7 separate regions of the Homo sapiens genome follow, and regions 1, 3, 4, 5, 6 and 7 are each linked to region 2. Evidence: promoter capture Hi-C in 16 types of primary human blood cells and fetal thymus (Javierre and others, 2016). All regions are on one chromosome and are shown on one strand. Each heading gives the region's core, a stretch centred on a gene start or on the middle of the fragment in contact. The rest is flanking DNA. Distances are from core to core; before and after follow the strand shown. Region 1 holds the start of HSD17B10 (hydroxysteroid 17-beta dehydrogenase 10). Region 2 holds the start of FAM120C (family with sequence similarity 120 member C). Region 3 overlaps TRO (trophinin). Region 4 has its middle 13 kb from the start of PAGE2B. Region 5 overlaps KDM5C (lysine demethylase 5C). Region 6 has its middle 5.2 kb from the start of VCF2. Region 7 overlaps PFKFB1 (6-phosphofructo-2-kinase/fructose-2,6-biphosphatase 1).

Region 1 (3,873 bases), core at 923-3,422, 750 kb after region 2:
CAAAAAAAAAAAAAAAAGCGGTAGAGGGGAAGAGATCCAAGACAACTCGAGAACATGGTCAGAGAGAGAAAAGATGGTGTGTAGATGCTGGGGAGGGCAGGAGGTTATTCCAGGGAATGACAAGTGCAATAAGGTGGCCTGGACAGGTGGTTAAAGTAGAGAGGAGGTGAAGGTTCCCGGAGTTGGGCAGGTGAAAGAATCATGAAACTGTGCCTGGAAATTCTTCCAAGATTAATTCATTAATTCATTTATTTCACACATTTGTTTTAAGTGTCTTGTACACGCCAAGCAGTGTTCTCGGCATTAGGTGAACCAGCTGGACAAGCCCCTGGTGCCATGGGGCTTACCTTCCAGCAGGGGGAGAACTACACAAACAAGGCCAGGTTAGCGGAGCATGCAGGCTCACAAGCCTGTAGGCACAATCCTGCAATGCCAAAACTTCTGAAAAGCATAAGGTTGTTTTTTCATACTTTGGAGCCCAAACTCAATAGATGACAAAACCTGACCTGAAGTAGTGTGAGGCTATTTATAGTCTTTATTCACACTTGGTGTGAATTTTCATACCTTTCACTTCAGAAATATTAATATTTCATTACGATGCTCCAGGCTTTTCTCAATAGTTATATAATATAGACTATACAAAAAGTTATGTTTGACTAGTTTTTTTAAAGAGTTATGTAATATAAATTACATGTCTTCCTTTCTCAAATTGAAAAAAACTCTGAATTCCACAGCACATCTGGCCCTAAGGTTGGAAAATGGATTACGGACATGCAAGTGCTATGAAGATAATTCAAATATGCAATGGGATAGTGTCTAGGTGGCTACAGTTTGAATATTTAGGGAGGACCCCTCTGGGAAGGTGATATTTAAGCTTAGTTCTGAATGAAAAAAAATAAAAGCAGTCATGCAAAGATCAGGGGAGAGCATTCCAAGCAGAGGGAGCAGCTAATGCAAAGATGAACACAAAGGAGGCCACTGTGGCTACAGCATATTGGGCCGGATGAAGAGTGCTATAAATTGATGGAAGCACTTCATGTAGATAGGAAAATTGTGAGACCGGTGTGCTAAATCCTTTGGTAAATACGGTGTAGTGATTATGAGTGTGGTGGCTGTCAACAACTAGAAGGCCTGGAGGGGAATCTTCCTGGGTGAGAAAGCAAGTGGGGGGAGATATTTCAGATAGAGAAAACATAAAGCAGTTCTGAGGCTGAAATGGTGGGCTAAGATTTATGGCCTGAAGACCTTGGTTTGAGGAAAAGTATAGAAGGAAGACAGATTAGATATCTGGGCTCAAGACTCTAATGACATAGCTTCTGGAAGCTGCCTGAAAGATGTTCTAGGATGACAAAGACCTGGGTCTTAAATAATAGTCTCTGGTTGAAGTCCAATCTGCAGTGTGTGATCTGGGCTTTTGGACTTAAATTAGACAAAGATAGAGGAGAGTAGCAAAGCCTGAACTGATGAAAGATGTTTTTGCCTCTTTAGGTTTGTGCTTCTCAGCAGCTGTCCTAGAATGTCTGTCTCCAAGCATCTCTCTTAGCGGCTTTCCACATTCATCTCTCTGTGATCCTACCTGGCATCTCTCTTCCTATCTCGGCCTCAACATATTTCTCTTTACATGGCTCTCTCTCTCTCTAACTCAGACTCCTCATCTTTGGATCTCCTTGTCTGAGTGTCCCAGAATCTGGTTCCGTCCATTCGTCTGTGTCTGTACTGTAATTCTCTTTCTCCACCTGGACTGTGCCCTCCTGGAAGGCATGAATCTTTTATTATTCCGCTGGGTATCCCAGGTGCCCCGCACACCGTCTAGCATATAGGAGTCTCAAATACATTCATACTTGAATTAAGACTTTTTCAGAGGAGAAAGGCATCCGTTCTCAATATCCACCCCTCTTCCCCCACGCGGAGCAGGCCACTTGCCAAAAGGCCAGCTAGAGAGTAGGGCGAGGGGTGTTGTGGTATTGTACTTCTGCTATTGGTCTCTTTCCCCAGTTGAAATAACTCTGGGGATACCTTAGCAGGCGGAATCCGCCCTCTGGCCAAAGGACTAGCGTACCAGGCCACGCCCCCACGTCTCATGCGGCAGCGGCAGACGCCCCGGCCCGTCGCATCCGCCCCTTCCGCCGCTTCGCCTCGGCCAATCAACGAGCGCCCGCGCCCCCATCCCCATCCCGTGGAGTGGCCGGCGACAAGATGGCAGCAGCGTGTCGGAGCGTGAAGGTAGAAGGTTCTTTGCCTCTGTTGCTTGCCTTCCTTTACGGGCCGGGACAGCGCGGCCGTGGAACTAGGAGAAAGAGATCGGTTTCGAGGGAAAGGGTCATGCTTATGTAGGCCTGGTATTGTGGCCGTTGGGCTCAAGAGGTGAAAGTCAGCACTCCGCGGCGCATCTGTCTGTCTGTCTGTCTGTCTATCTATCTATCTATCAATCATCTATCTATCTATCGTCACGGGACGGGCTGTCTGGGGATGAGATCCCTTCTGCCCCCGAGGTCCCAACGCTGAGGAGAAGCAGCACACCTAGTTTACCCGCAGGGGTGACCACGACCTCTCCCCTCCCCCCTTCTCCTCAGAAGCCTGGAGAACAGGCAGGCGACAGCGTGGGGATGGTCTGGGCAATGTAACAGCTGACCCTGACCATGTCCCTTTTGACAGGGCCTGGTGGCGGTAATAACCGGAGGAGCCTCGGGCCTGGGCCTGGCCACGGCGGAGCGACTTGTGGGGCAGGGAGCCTCTGCTGTGCTTCTGGACCTGCCCAACTCGGGTGGGGAGGCCCAAGCCAAGAAGTTAGGAAACAACTGCGTTTTCGCCCCAGCCGACGTAAGTGGGGTCACCTCTCCTCTCCCAGGGTGTGCATGAGGTCACCAACACCGGCCTGGGAACCTGTGGGGGTCCCTCCCATAAGGGTCTCCTCTATGGGGGCGGTAGACCCATCTCCTTGTCTCTTTTGGCCTGAGCCTTCAAGCACTGTGGGACCACCTGTGATAAGGATTCTCTAAAGCTGGGATTCACAACAATGAGGATGGGGATTGGACGTAACAATCTCCTGGAGGAGTTATGTATGGTTTGAAAATGCATTTTGTGCCTTGTAATTTTATATTTACAAAGTCAAAAAACTTGTTTTCATGAAACAAACTACAGAAAGTGAAACTTGATGAAATCATCTTAGCAGGTAAGGATACAAAAAAGCTAGTTTATCTTCCTATCAATAATTCTCACAAGAGGGTTATTTTTTATTTTTATTTTTGAGATGGAGTCTCGCTCTGTTGCCCAGGCTGGAGTGCAGTGGCACAATCTCAGCTCCTTGCAACCTCCATCTTCTGGGTTCAAGCGATTTTCCTGCCTCAACCTCCCAAGTAGCTGGGATTACAGGCACCTGCCACCACGCCCAGCTAATTTTTTTTTTTGTATTTTTAGAAGAGATGGGGTTTCACCATGTTGGCCGGGCTGGTCTTGAACTCCTGATCTCACGTGATCCGCCCGCCTCGGCCTCCCAAAGTGCTGGGATTACAGGTGTGAGCCACTGCACCCAGCCTCACAACAGGGTTGCATTAGTGCTCTGATCCACAGCAATTAAGAATCTTCAGGAGCATGTGAATTTATCAAGAAGGTATTGATTTGAAAAATGTTTTTGCAACACTGCTCTATATTACCTAATATTTTCACCTTTGACCTACTCTCTCAATTTTTTTTTTTGGGACAGAGTCTCACTGTTGCCCAGGCTGCAGTGCAATGGCACGATCTCAGCTCACTGCAACCTCTGCCTCCCGGGTTCAAGCGATTCTTCTGCCTCAGCCTTCCAAGTAGCTGGGATTACAGGCATGTGTCACTATGCCGGCTAATTTTGTATTTTTAGTAGAGACGGGTTTTCAC
Region 2 (3,909 bases), core at 80-2,579:
AAGAAGACAGGCACTGCATCTGTTTCATCTCAGTATGTTGAAAATACATTTTTCAAAAGATTATGACTCCATACATCTGAAATTAGAGCCCTTGCAGCTATTTAGAAAAGCTCCCGACAGACTAAAACACAATGAAGTTTGGAAACCAAAGGCCCTAACCATAGGACATAGTGGATCTAGGAGTACCAAAAAGGTACAATTTGTAATGTAATTTGTGTTGGTAATTATCTCCCTGCCCAAAGAGATGCTGAGGGCAAGGATATTCGATTTAACTTTGTCTCTGCATTGCCTTAGGCAAGTAAATAATGTAAGTTTCTTTTTATTTATTTATTTATTTTTGAGACGGAGTCTGGCTCTGTCACCAGGCTGGAGTACGGTGACATGATTTTGGCTCACTGCAACCTCCGCCTCCCAGGTTCAAGCGATTCTCCTGCCTCAGCTTCCCCAGTAGCTGGGATTACAGGCACGTGCCACCACGCCCGGCTACTTTTTGTATTTTTAGTAGAGACGGGGTTTCACCATGTTGGCCAGGATGGTCTCGATCTCCTAACCTCGTGATCTGCCCGCCTCGGAGGGATTACAGGCGTGAGCCACCGCGCCCGACCAGTTACGTCTTTCTTAATTGGGACCAACAGCTCTTTAAATATTATCTTTCCACTAAGGGGAAAATCCTCCCTCCTGGGGAGTTTTAGCTCACTTTAGCTGAATTCAGTCAATCCACTCTAACTTCCATTCCCATGATGCATCAATCCATCCCCCAAAACTCTTTTTCCAGGAAAAAGCAGTAAATAACCTAAGCAACTCAGTGAGATGCAAGGAGTTGGAGTGCAACTCCTAAACACTCATCATCACGCCCCGCTTCCTGTGACCCTGTGAGCACAAGGGCTGAGAAGGGTGGTAGTCTGGTTCCTCGACTATATCCTAAGGCCATAGAGAAGACTACAACTACCAAGATGCCCCTCTCCCCGCCCCGCCCCGCCCCTCCTCGCTCCCCTTCCTCCAGCTAGAAAGCGTGTACCACCGAGAAGACGAGGCAACATGGCTCCCGGAGGTGGAAGAAAGAGGCTTCACCCCTTCTAAAGCGGGAAGAAGAGCGGCCGGAAAGGAGAAAAAAGAGAAGTGACTAGAGCCCATCCTCGCTTTTATCCTCCCAGCCTCTCCCGGGTCCGGTCTGCCCCTCCCCTTCTCTCTACCCAAATCCAATTTGTGGTCTCCTCCCCTCCCCGCCCTCATTCCCTCGCTTCCTCACCCCTCCCCTCGGGAATCCTTTTCCCGCCCCCCCTCGCCCCCCGCGGAGTGCGCACGCGCCCGCCCCCAGCTTCGCGCCCAGATCGTCGCCTATCCTGCTTGCGCAGCCGCTATCGCGTCTGCCCACCGACGAAGCATGGGTGTCCAGGGCTTCCAAGAGTTCCTGGAGAAGCGCTGTCCCGGGGCCGTGGTGCCCGTGGACCTCCTAAAACTCGCGCGCACGGTCTCGCGCCAGCAGCAGCAGCAGCACTTGCACCGCCAGCTGCCGCCGACTGCAGCCCTAGCGCCCGGGGCTCCACGCGCCGCCAGGGGCTCCGTGCCTCTGCAACCGCCGCTTCCGCCCGCTGCCTTGGGTGCCTACTCCGGGGGCGCGGGGCCGACTCGGCACCATCACCCCGCTCACCACTTCCACCATCATGGCCAAGCGCAGCCCGGGCTGCACCCTCCGCTGCCGCCGCCGCCGCCCCCTCAGCTGCCCGGGGCCCGGGTGCTGGTGGACGCCGGCTCGGCGCTGCCGCGGCTCTATGGCGGCTACCAGACGGATTGGGTGTGTGGCGGCCAATGGAACGCCATGCTGGGCTACTTGTCAGCGCTGTGCCAGGCTTGTGCCTATCCTGGCGGCGACGGCCTGGAGCTCGTGGTCATGTTCCCGGGGGGCCTGGGCAAGGACCGGCTGGCCGAGTGGGGCCGTCGGTGCCAGGCCGAGCGGCAGACAGCGCAACTGATCGTGGGACACGTGGGCAACAAGGGCACCCCTCCACCGCGGGCCTGGTTCCTGCCACCGGCCTGCCTGAGCCACTGCGTGAGGCTAGCACTCATCCGCTTCCGGGTCAAGGTGAGGGAGGGGCCGGATCTTAAATAATAAGCCCCACACCTATTCCCTCCCAACTAAATACCTAACCACCTACCCACTTACCCACTACCCTACCTCCCATCTACCCACCCACCTACCCGCCCAACAGCTAACCTACCTGCCTAACTACCCTCTACCATTTTATCCATTTACCTCCCCCTTCATACCACCCCCTACGGATTCACTCACCTACATGGCCATATCTCTACTCATGTCATCCCAGTAGCTCCCTTTAGCTTCCCTTATCCAATTGGCCTACCACTAGGTTTCAGCAGAATCTAGTCAGAATTTCTTTTGTAGCCTCATCTTTCTCCTGGTGTCTTCTGCCTCAAACTGAAATGCCTTTACCCTGCTTTTGCCAGTTGACATCTCTCTCCTGTATCTCTTTCCAACCTCGCAGTAAATCACTTAAGCAGGTGTGAACTGAACACCTTTCTTCTACATTGTTTTTCCGTCTTCACCCACTGCTGCTTTTTTACCCATCTGTGTCCATTCAGCCTTTTTCATTTCAACATGCATCTTCTTCCTCCTGCCTTAGCCTAAACACATAAAAACCCACTGATTCAGTCACTGTTCAGCAAGTATTAACTCACTGAGTGTAAGGGTTTTAAAGACATGTGAGACACTGCTCATGCCCTTGGAAAGTTAAATGTATACACATGAAACATTTAATTATAGCAATGTGTATGTGATTATGCCTTATGGTCCAGACAGTAAGTACAGTTCCTGTTTTCTGTATGTGGGAGTGGTGGGATATCTTTGGACTAAAGTGGTCAGGGGAGGCTTCCCTGAAGAAGTCGGACCTCACCTGGGTCTTCAAAGGTGGATTGGATTTGAATGAGTCACAAGCTTGGGAGGAGGCTGCTTTAAGTGGGAGGAAGAAAATGAGCAGAAGCAAAAAGGAATATTAAGTGTGCAAGGCCCCATAGGCAGTTAAGTCCAATCTGCATGTAGTTGGGTCACTGCATATGGGGCCTGGGGAACAGCTTGGCAGCATCCCCAGTTCTTGGCACCACTGCTGCTGCTCTGTTGCTTTCCCATACTCTTAGGTTTCAAGTTCCTACGTGTAGAGAATAGCAAGGCTTGGGAAGTAAAGGAGGTGGGCAGGAAGAAGAAAAAGAAAAGTAGTACAGGGTTGGGTAGAAAGAAACCGCAAACCTATTTCCCCAACCAAGGTTCTTGGGGGTTGTCCTTACAGTTAGACAGAACAGGGGATTGTGGGAATCACTTAAGAAGTGGTGTCGGCTGGAGTAATGAGGAGGAAAGAAATTTTAGCTCAGAGACTAAAAGACCTAAACAGAGAAGCTTGCAGTGGTTATAGAGCTTGTGGCTAGAGTCCAGTCATGCTAGACTCGTTCTCAGCATCAAATCTGTGCCTAGAGTGCCTAGATTATAGTTGTTTTAATTTAAACTAATCCAAACGTGAGCTATCTCATACAAGGTTAAAAAAAAAAAAAAAGGCACACATTTGCTTGCTCTTCTGACTGAACATTTTAAGGTAGATTCTTTATTCATGGCCATTCTTTCCACTTTGTTTTCACTGCTACCACCCAGGCTTTTAAGGACTTTTTAACCTCGTTGTTATTAACCTGGTTGCTGGCAATAGTGACCACATTGATGGAATATTTACTATGTTTTAGGTGTCGATCTGTGCACTTCTTTTAAAAAAAATTACCTCATCATCCTCGCAATAACCTATGAAAGCAGTATTATCCCTGTTTTCCAAATGAGGAAACTGAGGCACGGGCTTAGAAACTTGCCCAAAGTCACCCAGAGATAAGTGGCAGGGCTGAGATTTGTGCCTATGT
Region 3 (2,671 bases), core at 107-2,606, 740 kb before region 2:
AGTCAGTGAGATAATGCACATAAAGCACATAGCCAAGTGCCTGGCACCCAGTAAACACACAGCAAATGTACTATTGTCATCAACATCATCTTTGTGATGAGCAGGAATCTAGGGAGACAGAAAATGGGGATACAAGGGAGAGGTGAGATCTGAAATACATGCAGAATATGTCCAACTATGAATAGAAGCTGAGACTAATTTGAGTGGCTTCTGTCCTAGCCATGTTTTCATCACTGACATGCTGTGTGACCCATGGCAAATCTACACCTCTCCCTAGGCCACTGTCTGCCCATTCACACAGTAATGGGGCTGGATTAGCATGTTTCTGTGATTCTCTCCAAAAGGGACATGTATGTCTTTGCTCGATTCAAAGCTTCCCCATTGCGCCCATCCGCCAGCACTGCCCCTTCACCTTCTCCAGAGTGTAGCTTGCTCGTTCAATGATTTCTGGGAAATATTCATCATATTCTTGGATGACATCCCTCAGCATGTCTGTAGAAAAGGAGAGGTGAGAGTAGCTGAGCTTAGCAGGGGCCACAGAGCTGCAGCCCTTTTGCCAGTCCTGTTGGGTCAGTGCAATCAGAGACCTGAAGTGAGTTAATGGGAGATGCCAGCCATGGCAGAGTGCAAGGAGGGCAGGTGTGGAGATATGACAGAACAAAGAGGCCATAAAGTGTTACTCCCAGACTATGGGAGGAGAGGGGAGTGGAGAGGAGAGCTCAAGGAGGAGGGTTGGTAGGACACTACCTGAGCGTTTGATGGGGATCTTTGTCTGGTCCTTAACCAACAGGTATTTCACCAACTTATTAGCCTGGGAGGAGAGGAATAGATGGAGAGATCTTAACATGCTTGCAGAAAACTTGGAAGGAGGCAGAGAAGAGGGCAAGTGAAGAAGAGAAGAGACTGGACAGCATTGGATTCTTACCCTTTCTTGTAAAATGGCCACATCTCGCGGTGGTGCAGGCCTCCGGCCCCATGGGATCCGCCTGTAATTACTGCCACTTCTCTCATCCCCATTCAGATGCTTGGACTTCATCATCAGAAAGAAGGAAGGTCCAGAGTCACCAGGTGAAAGAGATGGCTCTGTCTCCTCACCTTGCCTGCTCCAGACAGAAAGTCCCTCTAACCCCCTCCCTCAGCCTTGCTGTAGTGGAGCCTGATCCTGACCTTGCCATTGGCCACCCTGAGTCCTGAGCTTATCTTTCACTGTCTTCCAGGAAGGAGTTTCGTTCCTCTGCCAGGCCAGGAACAACTCAAGATAAGAGCCTAAGGGTCTTTCTCTTCCTCTGGCTACCACCAATTATGCTGGCTGGTACCTCTTGGACAAGTCACTTCATTTCTCTGAGACTCAGTTTTCTTAAGTGTAAAACTGGGACCTATGATCCCTTGTTGGTAAGAGTTACTTTCAAGACATTCAGACATACCCTGTGTAACTGTACCCAACACAAAGCCTGGCACGTGGTAACTACTATTTAAATACAAGTAGTATTACATACAGGTTGTAGCTGAGTGTATGGATGTCTTATTTCCTCACCAATCTGTGAACTGCTAGGGAGCAGAAACTATATCACCTTCTTCTCAGCATCTTCCACAGCCTATCTGAACACAGGGACTAGCTCAAAGTAAAACTTTTATAGAAGAAATGAACAAACTAGAAGGGTAGAAATGGAAAAGAAGCACAAAGTTAAGGATGGCAATGTCAGAGATCTCACCTTTCGGTTTCTTTTGCCCCGGGTCCTGGTTGTGGGCTCCAGGCTCAACTGAGCCAGATAGTCATCTGCCAGGGCCTGGACAGCAGCAGCAACCTGAGTCTCAAGGGCACTTACGTTGGTCTGAGCAGAGGCTATCTTGGCCTGGGCCCCTTGGTCAGCATTTGGAGTCTGGCTTTCAGTTGCCCGAGCCTTAGTGGCAGCCTTCCGAGCCCTAGACCCTCTCTTGACCCGCAGGGTGGCTGCCAGGGCTTGGTTTGTGACTATCTGAGTGGCAAGTGGGGCCTCAGAGATCTCAGAGACAGAATTTGGGCCCCTGCTGGCAGCCTTCTTGCCCTTGGATTTTTTGGGCCTGATAGCCACTACTGAGGCCTCAATCTGCCTGGTAGCTGCGTCAGTGACATTTAGAGCCTCTATATGCTCAGTGTCAGTATTTATGACCTTAGCAATTGTCTTCCTGGCTTTGGAGGCTTTCTTGGTTCGGATGGAGGCTGCTGTGGTGTGGATACTGGCTGTCTCATTGGTAATTTGGCCTTGGGTGGTAGCTGTATGGGTGGCAGTTGCAGCCAGCGAGACCTCGGTGGCACTAGCTATGGCCTTATTTGCAGCCTTCTTAGCCTTGGAAGCTTTCTTAGGCTTGATAGAGGTTATCAAGGCTTGGGAACTGGCTGACTCATTGGCAATTGGAGCGTGAATATTCTGTGAGATGACTGGTAGCTTTAGGACCTGCAAGGGTGACTTCAGCTGTATAGTGCCACCCTCATGGCCAGTTGGGGATTGGGAGCCTTGGGCTGCCTTGGCAGTAACTCTCTTCATCTTGTTGGCTTTCTTAGGCTGAGCAGTGACTGAAGAAGCCTGAGTATTGGTTACCTCAGTGGTAGGTAAAGCCTGGCTGATCTGGGTAATGACTGGCAGGTTTAAAGCCTGCCAAGTTATTTTGGGCTTGTTGGTGGCAATCTCAT
Region 4 (4,145 bases), core at 1,638-4,137, 880 kb before region 2:
AATGAAGAAAATATACAAAAGATCAATGAAACAGAAAGTTGGTTTTTGAAGAGATAAACAAAATGGACAAACCTTTAGCCAGACTAACAAAAAAAGAGACAAGACCCAAATAAGTAAAATCAGAGACGAAAAGGGAGACATTACAACTGATACTACAGAAATTCAATGGATCATTAGTGAATACTATGAGCAACTATATGCCAATATTTTGGAAAATCTAGAAGAAATGGAAAAATTCCTAGACACATTCATTCTGCCAAGATTGAACCATGAAGAAATCCAAAACCTGAACAAACCAATAACAAGGAAGGAGATCCATAATGAAAAGTCTCCCAGCAAAGGAAACTCAGGATCCAATGGCTACACTGCTGAATTCTACCAAGCTGTTAAAGAAGAACTAACACTAAACCTACTCAAACTATTCCAAAAAATAGAGGAGGAGAGAATACTTCTAAACTCATTCTACAAGGACAATATTACCCTGATACCAAAACCAGACAAAGACACATCACAAAAAGGAAACTATAGGCCAATATCACTGATGAATATTGATATAAAAATCCTCAACAAAATATTAGCAAACCAAATTCAACAACACATTAAAAAAAAGTCATTCATCATGACCAAGTGGGATTTAACCCAGGGATGCAAGGATGGTTCAACATATACAAATCAATTAATGTGATAAATCATATCAACAGAATGAAGGCCGAAAACCATATGATCATTTCAATTGATGCTGAAAAAGCATTTGGTAAAATTCAACATCCCTTCATGATAAAAACCCTCAAAAAACTGGATATAGAAGGAACATATCACAAGATAATAAAACTATATACAACAGGTCCATAGCTAGTATCATATTGAATGGGGAAAAACTGAAATCCTTTCCTCTAAGAACTGGAACAAGGATTCTCATTTTCACCACTGTTATTCAACATAGTACTGGAAGTCCTACCTAGAGCAATCAGACAAGAGAGAAATAAAGGACCTCTAAAAGGGGAAGGAAGGAGTCGAATCATCCTTGTTTGCAGAGATGTGATTTTATGTTTGGAAAAACCTAAAGGCTCCACGAGAAAACTAATAAACTGATAAACAAATTCAGGAAAATTTCAGGATACAAAATCAACATACAAAAATCAGTAGCATTTCTATATGCTAACAGCGAACAATCAGAAAAAGAAATTTTAAAAAGTAATCCCATTTACAATATACACAAAATACAATACTAGGAATTTGCTTAACCAAAGAAGTAAAAGATCTCTACAATAAAAACTATAAAACATTGATGCAAGAAATTAAATGTTAATGGATTGGGAAAATCAATATTTTTAAATGTCCATACTACCCAAAACAATCTACAGATTTGATGCAATCCCTATCAAAATACCAATGATATTCTTCATATAAATAGAAAAAAACTCTAAAATTTATATGGAACCACAAAAGACACAGAATAGCCAAAGCTATACTGAGCAAAAAGAACAAACATGGAAGAATCATATTACCTGACTTTAAATTACACTACAGAGCTATAGTAACCAAAACAACACAGTACTGGCATAAAAACAGACACACAGACCAATGGAACAGTATAGAAAACCCAGAGATAAATTCACACATCTACAGCAAACTCACTTTTGACTAAGTTCTCAAGAACATACACTAGTGAAAGGACAGTCTCTTTAATACATAGTGCTGTGAAAACTGGATATCCACATGCAAAAGAATGAAACTACACCCCTATCTCTCACCATATACAAAAATCAAATCAAAATGTATTAAAGACTTAAATTATAAGACCTCAGACTATGAAACCACCAAAGGAAAACATTGGGGAACCTCTCTAGGACACTGGACTGCACAAAGATTTCGTGAGCAATATCCCACAAGCACAGGCAACCAAAGCAAAAATGGACAAATTGAATTACATCAAGTTTAAAAGCTTCTGCACAGCAAAGGAAACAATCAACAAAGTGAAGCGGCAACCCACATAATGGGACAAACATTTGCAACTTACCCATCTGACAAGGAATTAATAATCAGAATACATAAGGAGCTCAAAGAACTCTATAGGAAATAAATCTAATCGTCTCATTTAAAAATGGGCAAAAGACCTGAATGGACATTTCTCAAAAGAAGACATACAAATAGCAAACAGGTATATGAAAAGATGCTCAATATAATTGATCATCAGAGAAATGCATATTAAAGCTACAATGAGATATCTTCTCAACCCAGTTAAAATGGCTTTTACCTGAAAGTCAGGCAATGATAAATGCTAGTGAGGATGTGGAGAAAAGGGAACTCCCCTGCACTGTTGGTGGCTATGTAAATTAGTACAACCATTATGGAGAACAGTTTGGAGGTTCCTCAAGAAAACTAAAAATAGAGCTACCATACGATCCAACAATCCTATTCCCAGGTATATACCCAAAAGAAAGAAAATCAGGATAACGAAGAGATATGTGCATTCCCATGTTTACAGCAGCACTATTCTCAATATCCAAGATTTGGAAGCAACCTAAGTGTCCATCAACATATGAATGGATAAGGAAAACGTGGTACTTATACACAATGGAGTACTATTCAGCCATAAAACGAATGAGATCCAGTCATTTGCAGCAACATGGATGGAACTGGAGGTCATTATGTTAAGTGAAATAAGCCAGTTACAGAAAGACAAACTTCACATGGTCTCACTTATTTGTGACAGCTAAAAATTAAAATAATTGAACTCATGGAGATAGAGTAGAAGGGTGGTAACCAGAGGCTAAGAAGTGTAGTGGTGAAGTGGCAGGGAACTGGGGATGGTTAATGGGCGCAAAAATATAGTTAGAAAGAATGAATAAGACCTAATATTTGCTAGCACAACAGGGTGACTACAGTCAATAATAATTTAATCATACATTTTAAAATAACTAAAAGAGTATAATTAGATTGTTTGTAACACAAAGGATAAATGCTTGAAGTGATGGATACCCCATTTACCCTGATGTGATTATTACACTTTGCATGCCTGTAACGAAATATCTCATGTAACCCACAAATACATATACCTACTATATACTCACAAAATTAAAAATAAAAAATATTTAAAAAGAACAATGGACACTAGGGTCTGTTTGAGAGTAGAGAGCAGGAGGAGGGTGAGGATTGAAAAACTACCTATCAGGTACTATGCTGATTACCTGGGTGACAAAATTATCTGTACGCCAACCCCTACGACGCATAACTTACCCATGTAACAAACCTACAAATGTACCCCTTGAACCTGAAATAGAAGTTGCAAAGAATAAGAAAAGAGAAACAGGTGTTACAAATCACTATTTTAAAAGAAATCATATGAAAATAAAGTAGCTCATTCCTTTATTCTTCTTTCTCTTATACATTATATTGTGATTTTATAGAATATTTGGAGCCCACTGGACTTTCACTAGCAGCTACCCTCTGTACACCCTTACCATCCCACAGTTCCTCTCTTTCAAATAAGAAGACCATGTGATTTACTAAATAATTTTAAAGTAATAATATAATATTTTGAGATGTTAATTTACATTTCTTTTTCTGTCTGAGTTTCCTTGTGTTCATTGCCTCCCTACTCCCAACAGTTGAACAGTAGTGATATATTTCTACATGTCTTAGCCTAGTCAGGAATAAATAGACACACTTTTCAATTTGGTTATTGAAAACTTACTGAAAATATAATTTACTAAAACAAAAAAAATACACACAAAAAAAACCAGAGATCAACTCAAAATGGATTAATGACTTAAATATAAGACCTAAAACTGTAAAAGTACTGAAAGAAAACATAGAGGAAAGCTTATTAGCATCTGTCCTGGCAAAGATTTTTGGGATATTACCCCAAAAGCATAGGCAACAAAAGCAAAAATAGACAAATGGATTGCATCAAAGTAAAAAGCTTTTGCATGGAAAAAGAAACAATCGAGTGAAGATGCAACCTGCACAATGAGAGAAAATATTTGCAAACTACATATCTGATAACGGGTTAATATCCAAAATATATAAGGAAATCAGACAACTCAATAGCAAGAAAATAAATAACCTGATTTAAAAATGGGCAAAGGACCTGAATAGATATTTTTCCAAAGGAGACATCCAAATTGCTGACAGTTACATAA
Region 5 (3,828 bases), core at 1,329-3,828, 960 kb after region 2:
TCTGGGGCGGAGGGCAGCTCGAGGTGGGGAGAGGGGGTGGCTGGGACCGTTGTGGTTGCGGCGCGGATCGGAAAAAGGGTGTTGGGCCAGGGGTCCTCTCGTGGTGTGAGGCCCACAGGTGACCTGGAGTCAGAGATCCACCCCCACCCCGGCCCTTCAGAATCACTCCGGGTTTAAGACAGGGATTCCTAGTGGGCCGGAGGGAGTTCACAGAGAGGCACCCCGCACATCTCTTAGCCCGGGCCACCTAGGTCGAGGCTGTAAAAATAAGACGTTTCTCCAATCTGTTGTCATCACTTCCTTTAAGGCAGGCAGCATAGTATAGTATTAATAGAAAGATCGCAGTCCTGAAGGGAGACAGACTTGAGTTCAAAACTCCACTTTGAAGCTGAGCAGCTGTGTGACCTTGGGAAAGTAGAAGTAATCTCTCTGAGCCCGTGAAATGGATCCCAGAAATGGTTATTTAGAGGATTGAATTAAACTAGGTAGCGTCTGTATGTAGTACGCACTAGATAAGTGGTAATTATTGTGACTGTGAGGGTGTTTGATGTGGTCATTGGTTTATTCCTATGTAGGTTGACTCATATTTACTCATACCTTGCCAGGCCAATTCATCTATGATAATATCCTGGCCTGCTGGACCAGTCAGGAAATCAGTCTCACAGGGATTGCTCTGTCTCCCTTGAGGTGGGTTCAGGGAATTGTCCTCTTCTTTTCCTCGTTGAAGGCAATGTCAAGGCCTTTTCTGCACATCATCCCGCAGACTTGACTTCCTATGGAGATGTTTGGACCGGTCAGCTTGGTGGTGGGGTGTGAGTCCTTCTCAGAAGATTTCTACTCTCCTCTGGTCCAGGATGTAGGAGATCCCAGAGGATAGGGCACTCTTGGGCCCGCAGAACAGAATGGAGCCATGGAATTCTGTCCCTTTTGGAACATGATTGCCAGGGGTCAGCAACAAAGGCCATAGCTTTCCTCCTAGGCCTGGCTTCAGGCTAGAAGTCTCCCAAGGGCTAGGGCAAGCTGCTGCCTTGCTGATATGGTGGAAAAGTGATGATAATGTTCAGTGATCAGTTGGGATTCCAAGGGCAGAAATTGAGCTTTGCTGGAAAAGGGTGTTTTTGAGTGGGTGTCTCCTGGCTGAAATGGAATAGGAAGCTTCATTCCCACCTGAGGAGGGCACCACAGGCCTCCTTATCCAACTTGGTGCTTTCTGGTGCTCAGCCACAGATCTAGGATGGTTTCAGATAGATCCTCTAGGAGGTGTTGGGTAAGCGAATTTCTTCCTTCTTGGAGTCTGGCCACAGATTTCTGAGGTATCCTTGTCCATGGTGAGGGAGTGGCAGTGGGTAGAGGGTCAGGAAGGCTAGTGGAAGGGAGAGGCAGGAGTCCTGGGCAGCCTCAAGGAGGCACTCCCTGAAGTGGTTGGGCAAGCCTGTGGGAAAAAGAGGCATAGCTGACGTAGGGGGTAGTTGAGGCCTGAATTCCTTTTTTCTATCTTGGACTGACTTAGGCAGGCTGGCCTTGTGTAGGTGTTGTTACCCTGCTTTGGGGCATCAGGAAGGGGAAGAGTGACATGTCCCAGGTGTGCATGGCCAGCAGGAGGCCGTCCTTTTCACTGCTCAACAGTGTGCTTCTCTCTAATCCAGGATACCTGGCTCTCTGGTTTGGTTTTGTTTTTTCCTTCTCTATGGCAGCTCCTAGGCCACCTTTAGGCAGCTGGCCTTCTTCTGGTTGAAGTTTGAAGTACTCGCTCAAGTGATGCTTGGGCCCAGGGTGGGAACCTGTATATGGGTGGGTACCTGGGAATTGGAGGTTTGCTGGAGGAAGGATGGTTTGGGGCCTGAATTGCTGGGCAGGTGACTGCTACGCTTGGGAAAGATGGGTGGGAGGAGAGTGTGGGTACCCTGAGTAGACCCAGTGGAGTTTGGAAGGATCTTGCTTTCTTCATCAGGTAGCCAGCCTTTTTTTTATCACCACATCCCAGTAATACCAACATACATTTGGCATACAGTAGTCTGGAGATGAAGGCAGGCGGTTTGCAGGGCCTTCCCAGGTATCTGTTGCATCCATGGCTCCTGCCGTAGCATTCCAGGGCTGCCATTTCCTGTCAGGTGCTTGATGTTGCACTGATTGTCTAGAACTTGATTCAGCAGGAAAGAAGGGTGCCCGGAGTTTTGGGTTTGAGCACCTTTTTAGCTGGGTTACCTGTGCTGAGGGGAGTGCCCTATCCTGATGAGAGGCAAGAGGGCATGGGGAGCTTGTCTGGATTTGAGCCATACCATTTTGGCCTGCCTGTTTTTTTTTTTTTTTGTCCCTGCTTACTGAGCCCCAGATGTTTGCCACCTGCTTTGGCTGGTAGGGGCAGGGGAGTGTGGTCTGTGTATGCATGCAAAATATGAGTCCTCTAGCCCATTTTCTAAAAGTGTGTGTGCAGAAGAGGTCAACAGTTTTTCTTCTCTTTCACTGTCTCTCCCCCCCGCCCACGTGTATGCATGTATGTATGAACATTGATGTCTGGTGTAGTGCAAAGGCCTTGGATCAGAGGTCAGAAGACGTGGGTTCTTGGCCCCACCACTAACTCAGCATGTAATTTTGGAAATTTCACTTTTTTTCTCTGAGCCTCACTTTCCCCATTTATAAAATGAGAACATTGGTTTAGGTTACTTTAGGTTGATTTCACCACCCCAGCAGGAGCCAGGGCTCTGGGAAGGAGAGGTCTGCATAGGAGGTTGGAAAGGGGTGTTGGAGAGGGGGTTCTTCACAGCTGACCTTTGGGCAGGACACAGCAAGCTCCAACTTGGCAGAGCAGAGTGTCTCCCACTTTCATGATCTTTCCCTGACTTCCCTCCCCAAATCCTCCCATTCTTTGCCACCACAGTCAGGCATCCCAGCACTTACCCCCACCCCCTGGGGCTTCCTCCCCTGCCTCTTCCTGTACCAGGCAGGTGTATGAGAGAGGATCTACAGGAAGCCTTCCAGACTGGGTGAGTGATACACATACTTGCTCCCTGTTCCTTGCTCTTCCCTGCAGTGTCTATCTCAGGCCCTTTAAACTGAGAGAACAAACATTAAAGGCCCAAACCTTTACGTCCTGCCACAATCGGACCTGAGCTACCCTGCATGTGTATTGTGAGGTGTGGTCAGCCTTAGATGTCAGGTCATAACGGTGACTCCTTTGAATAACATTTTCATTTGAAAACTAGTTTTAATTTTCCATATTGGTCTGGCAAGGAAGCCAGGGCTAGAGTTCATATTCCCACCTCACAGATGAGAAAACAGGTTCAGAAAGCTAAAATCTCATAGCTAGTAAGTAGCGGATCTAGAACATGAACCCATATCTTCTGACTCTAGATCCTGTGTGCTTTCCAGTACTCCCAGGCCTGTGTGTCCTACAGCACGTGCCTAGGGGATAAGGAATTAATGTGGGTGTGGAGAAGGTTTAGGGTCAACAAAACAGAGGCTCCATCTCTTAATTTCTTGAAATCCTGGCACTGTACTGTTGGGTGGGACTCAGGAGAAGTTTCCTAGGGCATGTGCATGGGGCCTTGGGTGCAGACTTGAGGGGCTGCTAGACTCTTGTGAGTTCTGGGGGGAGGTGGGGGTGGGTGGTTGGGTAGGATGTTTGCAGGTTAAAGGGTCTGGAGTGGCTAGAGGTTTGGGAAGGTGCCAGTGGGATTCCGAGCTGCTTTTGGTGACTTCCGGTCTTACACTATGCTGAGATAACTCAAGTCCCTTTCCCCTCTCTACCCTCTCAGGACTGGCAGCCACCCTTTGCTGTGGAAGTGGACAACTTCAGGTTTACCCCCCGAATCCAGAGGCTGAATGAGC
Region 6 (4,238 bases), core at 1,369-3,868, 980 kb before region 2:
TACTGAAGTATATACAAACTGTGTATTTCTCATGCATTGTAATAAAAGAGTTTGAAGGTCACTACCTTAGAGATTATGAGACAAAATGTTTAGAGGCCCTTTCTTTAGCCATCTGTGAAGATGATGGATTAAGACTTGCTCAGAATAAATTCACTGTTGTCTGTAGCTTTCTACATAATGCTCTAAGTAGCTCTCAGTGATGTTTAAATTGGTCAGTTTTATTGTGGGCATTTGACCCTTAGCAAACTCATTTGCGAACTCCTGAGTTGGTGAGAAAAAGTCTGATTAGTGGTGGGGCTTTAGTTCCTACCATGTGTTTCTGCAGCTACAGGGTGTGTTCATGTGTGTGCTTCTGCACTCATCTGATGGTGCTTTGATGTGTTCCCTTTCATTTCCCCCCTTTATTATTGACTGTCTCTTATGGTTCCTATTATGTACTTCATTAGCATCTAGTGACAGTGCCATCTGTGGTATTCGGATTTGATCCGTTTTACACATATTCCAAAATATTTTCAAGCATGAATATTTATTCTTACCAACTTTCCTGTAAGTACTCGGAGGAGTCCAATGCAATTAAATATGCATATTTGATGTTACATCTTACTGGGCAATAATTCTACTGCATTTATAATCAGACTAACAGACGTTACACTTGAGGTATATGTCACCATCATGCTTACATAAATGATACATTGACCAAGACATAGAATGAAAGATTCTGAGATATTGACATTTTTTTAAATGACCTTGAGAAATACACAATCATGGAATACTTGGAAAAATTCTCCCTTTGAAACTGATGCAGGATAGGCCAGCCCCAAAATTGAAGCTTAGCCTGAGAGGGCTCTTGGCTTTGCCCAGGAGAGATTTCAAGTGTGAGCTGGTAGTGTCAGACAGCAATCTTTTATTGAATGGAACTCCTCCTTGCAGAGCAGGGCTAACTCATAGGCACTACACTCAGAGTCACCAACTTATGGGGTCTTTGCAAACGCATTTCTATTGACTTATACCCACTTTCAATTATATGTACATTAAGGGCAGGTTAATGCAAGTTGAGGGGCGAGATATTTAGAACTTTCTATGAAAGGGGGTAACTTCCAGGCCATTGCCATGGGAAGCTGTTGTAACTTCCAGGTCATTGCCATGGCATTTGTAAACTGCGATGGTGCTGGTGGGAGTGTCTCATGCTAATAAGCAATAAGGGCAACCAGGGATCACCCTTGTGGCCATCTGCTGGTTTCTGCCAGTTTATCCACTTTATTCTGTCTGAATCAGATTCTGTTTTAGTCAGCAGGGTTATGACCAGAAACAAGTCCTGCCAGTCTCCTACCTCAGATATATGTTTCTGTATCATTTAAGCCCTGGGACAAGTTTCTCAGACTGAAAACATGGTTTGGTAAAGCTGGATGCTTTCTTAAGGGGATAGGGTAAGATCAGAAAATAATCCACACTTTTCAATCTGCGAGTAAATAAATTAAATAATGGATGAAAATGTATTTCTTAATGTGATGCAGAATGGTAGATATTAGATTAATACAGGGTCATGAATTTTTCTTTAACAGGCTTGGCAATAAATATTTTAGTCTTTGTGGGCCACATAGATTATGTGGCATATTGTTGTGTTTTTTAAAAATAAGAGTTTAAAATGTAAAAAAAAAAAAGTCCTTATCTTAAAGGCTATGCAAAAATGAGCCATGGGCTGGATTTAGCTACCAAGCCATAGTCAGCTATCCCCTGGATTATCTTTTAATTCAAATATTTGAATGCTGCATTTTTGTACCAGTAGTCAAAATATTAACAAAGGAGAGCTCTACCTCCACATAATATTTAGAAAGGCTCAAGAGAAAGTCACTTTAGCCCTGAAAATGAGAAAAAGCCTAATAACCTATATTATCATTTTTTTTTAGATCATGAGAGAGCTGAGGTAATAAGGCAGCCATGGGAACTGATACAAGAGGATGACAAGCCCCTCTGAGGAGAGATGACACACACAAACTGTGTTACCTCTGGCAGAACATGTGTGCAAGAAGTGACAGTCATAAAAGTGGGTAAGAAGGAAACAACTGAAATGTAATAAATTCATAAAGTTCAAACGTAGGCAGCTGAGAGAGCTGGAATCCCTAGAAGTCTCTGACATAAGTAGAATCCACGTTCACAGACAGATGAGACCCTGTCTCAAATAAAAAAATAGTCAAACAGTATAAGGCTAAATAAAAAAATCAAGAACAAAAATAACAGATGCTGGTGAGTTTATGGAGAAAAGGCAATGCTTATACACTATTGGTGGAAGTGTAAATTATTTCAGCCACTGTGGAAAGGAGTGTGGCAATTCCTCAAAAAGCTAAAAGCAGAACTGCCATTTGACCCAGAATCCCATTACTAGGTATATAAAGACACATGCACAAGTATGTTCATTGAAGCACTATTCACAATAAAAAAGACAGAATCAACCTAAATGCCTGTCAATAGTAGACTGGATAAAGACAATGTGGTACATATACACCATGGAATACTATGCGTCTATAAGAAAAAGAGAGACATCATGACCTTTGCAGCAACATGGATGGAGTTGGAGGTGATTATCATTAGCAAACTAATGTAGGAACAGAAAACCAAATGCCACATTTACTCACTTATAAGTGGGAGCTAAATGATCAGAACACATGGACACATAGCAAGGACCAACACACTGGGGCCCATCAGAGGGTGGAGGGTAGGAGGAGGGAGAGGATATGGAAAAATAACTGATGGACGCTAGGCTTAATACCTGAGTGTCAAAATTATCTGTACAACAAAACCCTGTGACACGCATTTACCTGTATTACAAACCTGCACATGTACTCCTCAACCCAAAATAAAAGTTTCAAAAAAACTCACAAAATTTATGAAATATTCTGATATTTCTACTGAGAAGAAATAAATTCACTTATTTTTTGTACAAAGAAGGAAGAAAGGAAGAAGGAAGGGAGGGAGGGAGGGAGGGAAAGAGGAAGGAAGGAGGAGAAGAAAACAGAGAAAAATAGGGCTGAACAAATGTGTCTGTCTCTACCCAAACAGCTCTTGATGAGAAGGCACTTTGAGCAACTTGAGTGAGAAGTAACATAAATCAGAGGATGTATTAGTCTGTTCTCATGATGCTGATAAAGACAAACCTGAGACTGGGAAATTTACAAAAAAGAAAAAAAACAAAAAGAGGTTTAATGGAGAACTCACAGTTCCACATGGCTGGGGAGGCCTCACAATCATGGTGGAAGGCAAGGAGGAGCAAGTCACGTCTTACACGGATGGCAACAGACAAAGGGAGGGAGGTTGTACAGGGAAACTCCCCCTTATAGAACCATCAGATCTTGTGAGACCCACTCTCTATCGTGAGAACAGCATGGGAAAGACCTGCCCCCATGATTCAATCACCTCCCACCGAGTCCCTTCCACAGGGTGGGGACACCACCAAACCATATCAGAAGATCTCAATCATCTCCATTTACAGCCTTTCAAAAGTTATTCTGGCTGTTGTTTCTGAGCAATTCAAAACTTCCCTGGGGCCCAATGAATCCATGTATTCTCCTGAAGGGCATCTTTTACCTGGATTAACAGCACAGCTGAGAACCAACACAGACCGGTTAGTTTAGGAAGAAAAAGAAAAGAAAAATACAGTAGACCAACATTTCCCTCCCCCATGATATTGTTCTCTTTTCACTTTTTCCATTCAATGTAGAGAAGGATATTTGAATCCCAAAATTTCTAAGCTGAGAGACCTCTGAAACATTATCCTATACAGCCATTTTCAAAATATTTTTAGCAACAGAACACTTTTGTGAAATGAAATTTCATCTAAAAGCCTACTGCAGAAAATGGGGTGATAAAGTAATATTTTTCATATAAATGTATCACTTTAGTTTCAAGTTATCTTTCTATAAAGGCTGTCAGTAAATTTGATTGAGGTTCTTTTGAGGAACCTAACAAATTATTCTGTGGATTTCTGCATAACACTTCAGTTCCATATTAACTTCTACATCTGATTTTTTGGTGTTTTTACTGTTACCGTTTCACGGCTGCAAGAAGATCTTGATTTTCACAATATATTTATCGCTAATCTGTATCTTGGGAAAAAGAGAACCTCACTTTAAAAATAAACAAGTTACAAGTAAAGGATGGAAGAAGATATACCCTGCAAACATGAACCACATAAAAACTCAAGGTGTCAAATTAATACCTCACAAAGCACTCTTTATAGTGGA
Region 7 (3,646 bases), core at 846-3,345, 800 kb before region 2:
ATTTGTTGTTGGTTTTATCATGAAGGGGTATTTAATTTCCCAAATGCTTTATCTGTGCCTATTATGATGATCATTTGGTTTTTTTGTCCTTAATTCTATTGATGTGATCTGTTGCATTAATTGATTTTCAAAGGTTAAATCAAGCTTGCATTCCTATAATAAATCTAACTTGATTGTGATGTAAAAAGTATAAGTATAATATATACATATATATAATGTATACATATAAATCCTTTTATACATTCCTGGGTTCAGTTTGCTAGTGTTTTGTGGGGATTTTTACATCCATATTCACAACAGCTATTGGTCTATAATTTTCTTTTCTTCTAATATATGTGCCTAACTTTGGTAGCACGGAAATACTGGCCTCATAGAATGAGTTGGGAAGTGCTTCTTCCTCTTCTACTTTTTGAAAGAGCTTTTGAAGAATCGTATTATTCTTTAAATGTTTGTAGAATTCACCAGTGAAACCATCTAATCCTGGACTTTTCTTTCTGGCAAGGTTTTTCATTACTTATTCAACCCCTTGTTATAGATCTATTTAGATTTCATTTCTTTTTTAGTCAGTTTTGAGAGTTTGTATCATTCTAATAATTTATCTATTTCACCTAAGGCATTTATTGTGTTGGCATACAGTTTATGATTGTTCATAATATTCCCTTATAATTCTTTTTATTTTCATAAAGTCAGTAGTAATGTCTCCTCTTTTTTTCCTGAATTTATTAATTTGAGTTTTCTCTTTTTTTTCTTGGTCAGTCTCACTAAAGGTTTGTCAAGTTTATTAATTTTTTCAAATAACCAACTTTTGATTTTGTTGATTTTTTTCTAATGTTTTCCTAGTCTCTGTTTTATTATTTTCACCTCTAATCCTTATTATATCCTTCTTCTGTTTCCTTTAGGTTCCCATATTTGTGAATTTCCCAAAGTTCTCTCTGTTATTAATTTTTTATTTTACTCCATTATGATTGGAGAACATACTTTATATGATTTCCATTCTTCCAAATTTATTGAAGCTTCTTTTATGGCCTAGAATATTGTCTCTCTTGGAGCATGTTTGATGTACACTTTGGAAAAATGTATAGTCTGCTGTTTGGAGATGGAGTGTTTTACAGATGTTTGTTATTACTACTTTGTGTTGAAGTCCTCTATTTCCCTGTTGTTGATCTTCTATGTAGTTGTTCTATCCATTATTGAAAGAGTGGTCTTGAAGTTTCCAACTATTGTCAGTGGATTGTCTATTTCTCCCTTCAATTCTGCCAGTTTTGCTTCATGTATTTGGCAGCTCTGTTGTTTAGGCATATACGTTTATACTTGTGATATATTCATTATGGATTGACCCTTTTGTCATTATTGAATGTCCCTATATATCTCTAGTAATGTTTTTGAACATCCATTTTGTCTCATATTAGTATGGTCACTCCAAATTTCTTGTGGTTGTTGTTTGCATGATGTATTACTTACGTTATTTTACTTTTAATCTATTTGCTTCTTTCTCTTTTTTCTTCTTTCTTTTTTAGAATAGAGATGGAGTCTCACTATGTTGCCCAGGCTGGTCTCAAACTTCTGGACTCAAGGGATCCTCCCACCTTGGTTTCCCAAAGTGCTCGGATTATAGGCGTGAGCCACCAGGCCTGCCTTGTATCTTTCAGTCTAAAACCTATCTTCTGTAGGCAGCATGCAGTTGGATCTTGTTTGTTTGTATTCAGTTAGATATTCTCTACCTTTTGATTGGGTTGATTAATCTGTTCTGATTTAAAATCATTATTGATATAGTTGGTTTAAATATGCAGTTTTATTTTTCCATAGAGCTCATGTCTTTTTCTCTCTATTCTTCCTTTACTGCTTTCTTTTGCATTAAATGAATTATTCTAGTTTAACTTTTTAATTCATTTGATCATTTTTTATTATATATTTTTTAGGTATATTCTTCGTGGTTGTTCTAGGGCTTTTCACATACATCATACATCAGTGTGCTTCAGATTTGTACTAATTTAATTTCAATGAGATATAAAAATTTTACTCATATATAGCTCTCTTTCACCTTCCTTTTTGAGCTATTATAATATATATATTATATCTGTATATGCTAAAAACTAAATAATACATCATTATAAGTATTATTTTATATAATTTTATGTTTTAAGGAAGCTGAGAAAATTAAGGAGAACATGTATGTATTTATTATTTTCTATTATTTTCATTTGTTCCTGTGGGTTTGAATTACCTTCTGGTATCATTTCCTTATTTCTATATAACTCTTTGCTTTGTGACTTGGCTAGGCTATTTTTAAAGTATGTTTCCCTGCAGTGTGAACCCTTCAGTGTTGCTTCTTGGAGTGCATAGTTTTTGGCTTGCAGGTAATTTGGGCTTTCTTTGACTTTTTCCCAGTCTCTCTATTAAGCTGTCAGCCCACATGGGGGTATTACACTCTAGGCTCCACTAATTACTAGCTGAATGCTGTATTTTGTTTTTGTTTTTTGTTTGTTTGTTTGTTTGGCAGTGTCCTGAAGCATGCATTGCCCAGCAGCCTTATCTAATTAAACTCTAGCAGGAGTAGTTTGTGAAGTAAGTCTTGGAGGTTTCTTCATACCCCAGAAGGGCTCTTCTTACCTGTCCCTCTCTCTCTTGTTCTCTCTGATGAACAAGCTGGCCTATGTTGCTGTTAGTTAAGTGAACTTGTAGTTTTTGAGAACATCCTTGGGCTTGAGCTTCTTTGTACTATGTTAAAAATAAAGTTAGTTTTGGGGGGAGAGTTTCAGAGCTCTCTCATCTTATGAATTTCTTCTCTCCATGGGTATACTGTCTGAGCACTGTTCTGGGTGCTGGGCGAGACAGCAGCTTCTGGTCTTAGTTTGCCTATCCTGGTGTGGAACCTACCCTGTGAGCAAGATGGAATGAGGGTAATCAGGACCTCAGTATTCTTAGCCTATTGCACCTGGTATATAGCCTCCATTCTATGAGTAAAAACTGGGAGGAGGAAGGGATCCTCCAACCTCTTAACCACACTTGCCAGGAATTTAGCCTCTGCAATTCTGAGCTGAAGGGAATGCTAAATGCTAGCTCTCTGCTCCTTCCAGTAAGATGCCAAAGTATTGATGGGACATTCTCTCCAAGACGAAAGGGAGCTTCATCTTGGCTATACACACCTTAAGTGGAGCTTCTATCAAGCTAAGCTTGGAGCCAGTAGTGAGGGGACAGTAGTAAGGTCGGGAACAGTAGCATGGCACATGTATCAAAGACTGTGTTCTTACCACATTTCAGTAGATTTTCTTGAATAAAAATATCTTCATGTACTGTATTCCATTAAGACAATTTCCAGAGATTTTAAAAGGTTGTTGTGTTGTAATTTTGCCAGCTGAGCTTGTTTTATTAGAGAATGGGTCTTTAGAGCTCCTCATGCTGTCATGCCAGAAATGAAAGTCTCAAGATTGTCTTTGTGTGTTGATCTTGTATCTTGCAGCCTTGATGAACTCACTTGTTAGTTCGAGGAATTTCTGTAGTTTAGGGGGATATTTCTATGTAGACAATCATGACATTTGCAAATAGGGATTTTTTAAAAATTATTTTCCAAACCGTATGCCTTTTATTTCCTTTTATTGCCTTATTGCAGTGGTTAGAACTTCTAGTACTATGTCAAAAGAGTGGA

What was found. Contacts are between HindIII fragments. The CHiCAGO score rates a contact against its expected background, and 5 or more counts as called.
Region 1: a contact is called between the fragment with the promoter of HSD17B10 here and the fragment with the promoter of FAM120C in region 2, in 8 of 17 cell types (non-activated CD4 T cells, fetal thymus, naive B cells and 5 more). The highest score is 8.3, in non-activated CD4 T cells.
Region 3: a fragment that was not itself captured here is called in contact with the fragment with the promoter of FAM120C in region 2 in 1 of 17 cell types (fetal thymus); the score reaches 6.6 in fetal thymus.
Region 4: a fragment that was not itself captured here is called in contact with the fragment with the promoter of FAM120C in region 2 in 3 of 17 cell types (monocytes, fetal thymus and total B cells); the score reaches 6.8 in monocytes.
Region 5: a fragment that was not itself captured here is called in contact with the fragment with the promoter of FAM120C in region 2 in 3 of 17 cell types (fetal thymus, monocytes and non-activated CD4 T cells); the score reaches 5.8 in fetal thymus.
Region 6: a contact is called between a fragment that was not itself captured here and the fragment with the promoter of FAM120C in region 2, in 1 of 17 cell types (total CD8 T cells). The highest score is 5.5, in total CD8 T cells.
Region 7: a fragment that was not itself captured here is called in contact with the fragment with the promoter of FAM120C in region 2 in 2 of 17 cell types (fetal thymus and naive B cells); the score reaches 6.0 in fetal thymus.

The regions. Positions count from the first base shown.
Region 1 is chrX:53,432,669-53,436,541 of GRCh38, reverse strand. HSD17B10 (hydroxysteroid 17-beta dehydrogenase 10) reads left to right here and starts at 2,172. Exons shown (of 6, transcript NM_004493.3): 1 at 2,172-2,223; 2 at 2,656-2,820. The coding sequence starts at 2,197. The HindIII fragment of the contact is 11,572 bases long and covers 877-3,873 here.
Region 2 is chrX:54,180,674-54,184,582 of GRCh38, reverse strand. It overlaps FAM120C (family with sequence similarity 120 member C), which reads left to right and starts at 1,329. Exons shown (of 16, transcript NM_017848.6): 1 at 1,329-2,083. The coding sequence starts at 1,385. RefSeq lists silencers at 897-996, 1,567-1,776, 1,787-1,836. The HindIII fragment of the contact is 3,156 bases long and covers 1-2,952 here.
Region 3 is chrX:54,922,810-54,925,480 of GRCh38, reverse strand. TRO (trophinin) reads right to left here. Exons shown (of 13, transcript NM_001039705.3): 3 at 1,713-2,671; 4 at 926-1,030; 5 at 748-811; 6 at 413-492. Among named protein-coding and RNA genes, the nearest start is that of SNORA11G, 3.2 kb to the left of the region's middle. The HindIII fragment of the contact is 1,962 bases long and covers 376-2,337 here.
Region 4 is chrX:55,060,391-55,064,535 of GRCh38, reverse strand. It overlaps a transcript of PAGE2B not described here. Among named protein-coding and RNA genes, the nearest start is that of PAGE2B, 13 kb to the left of the region's middle. The HindIII fragment of the contact is 1,880 bases long and covers 1,948-3,827 here.
Region 5 is chrX:53,220,844-53,224,671 of GRCh38, reverse strand. It overlaps KDM5C (lysine demethylase 5C), which reads left to right. Exons shown (of 26, transcript NM_004187.5): 2 at 3,756-3,828. Among named protein-coding and RNA genes, the nearest start is that of KDM5C, 2.4 kb to the left of the region's middle. The HindIII fragment of the contact is 2,841 bases long and covers 1,158-3,828 here.
Region 6 is chrX:55,164,275-55,168,512 of GRCh38, reverse strand. No RefSeq gene overlaps it. Among named protein-coding and RNA genes, the nearest start is that of VCF2, 5.2 kb to the right of the region's middle. The HindIII fragment of the contact is 3,574 bases long and covers 832-4,238 here.
Region 7 is chrX:54,984,161-54,987,806 of GRCh38, reverse strand. The region is part of intron 1 of PFKFB1 (6-phosphofructo-2-kinase/fructose-2,6-biphosphatase 1); the gene reads left to right. Among named protein-coding and RNA genes, the nearest start is that of PFKFB1, 8.2 kb to the left of the region's middle. The HindIII fragment of the contact is 2,160 bases long and covers 1,016-3,175 here.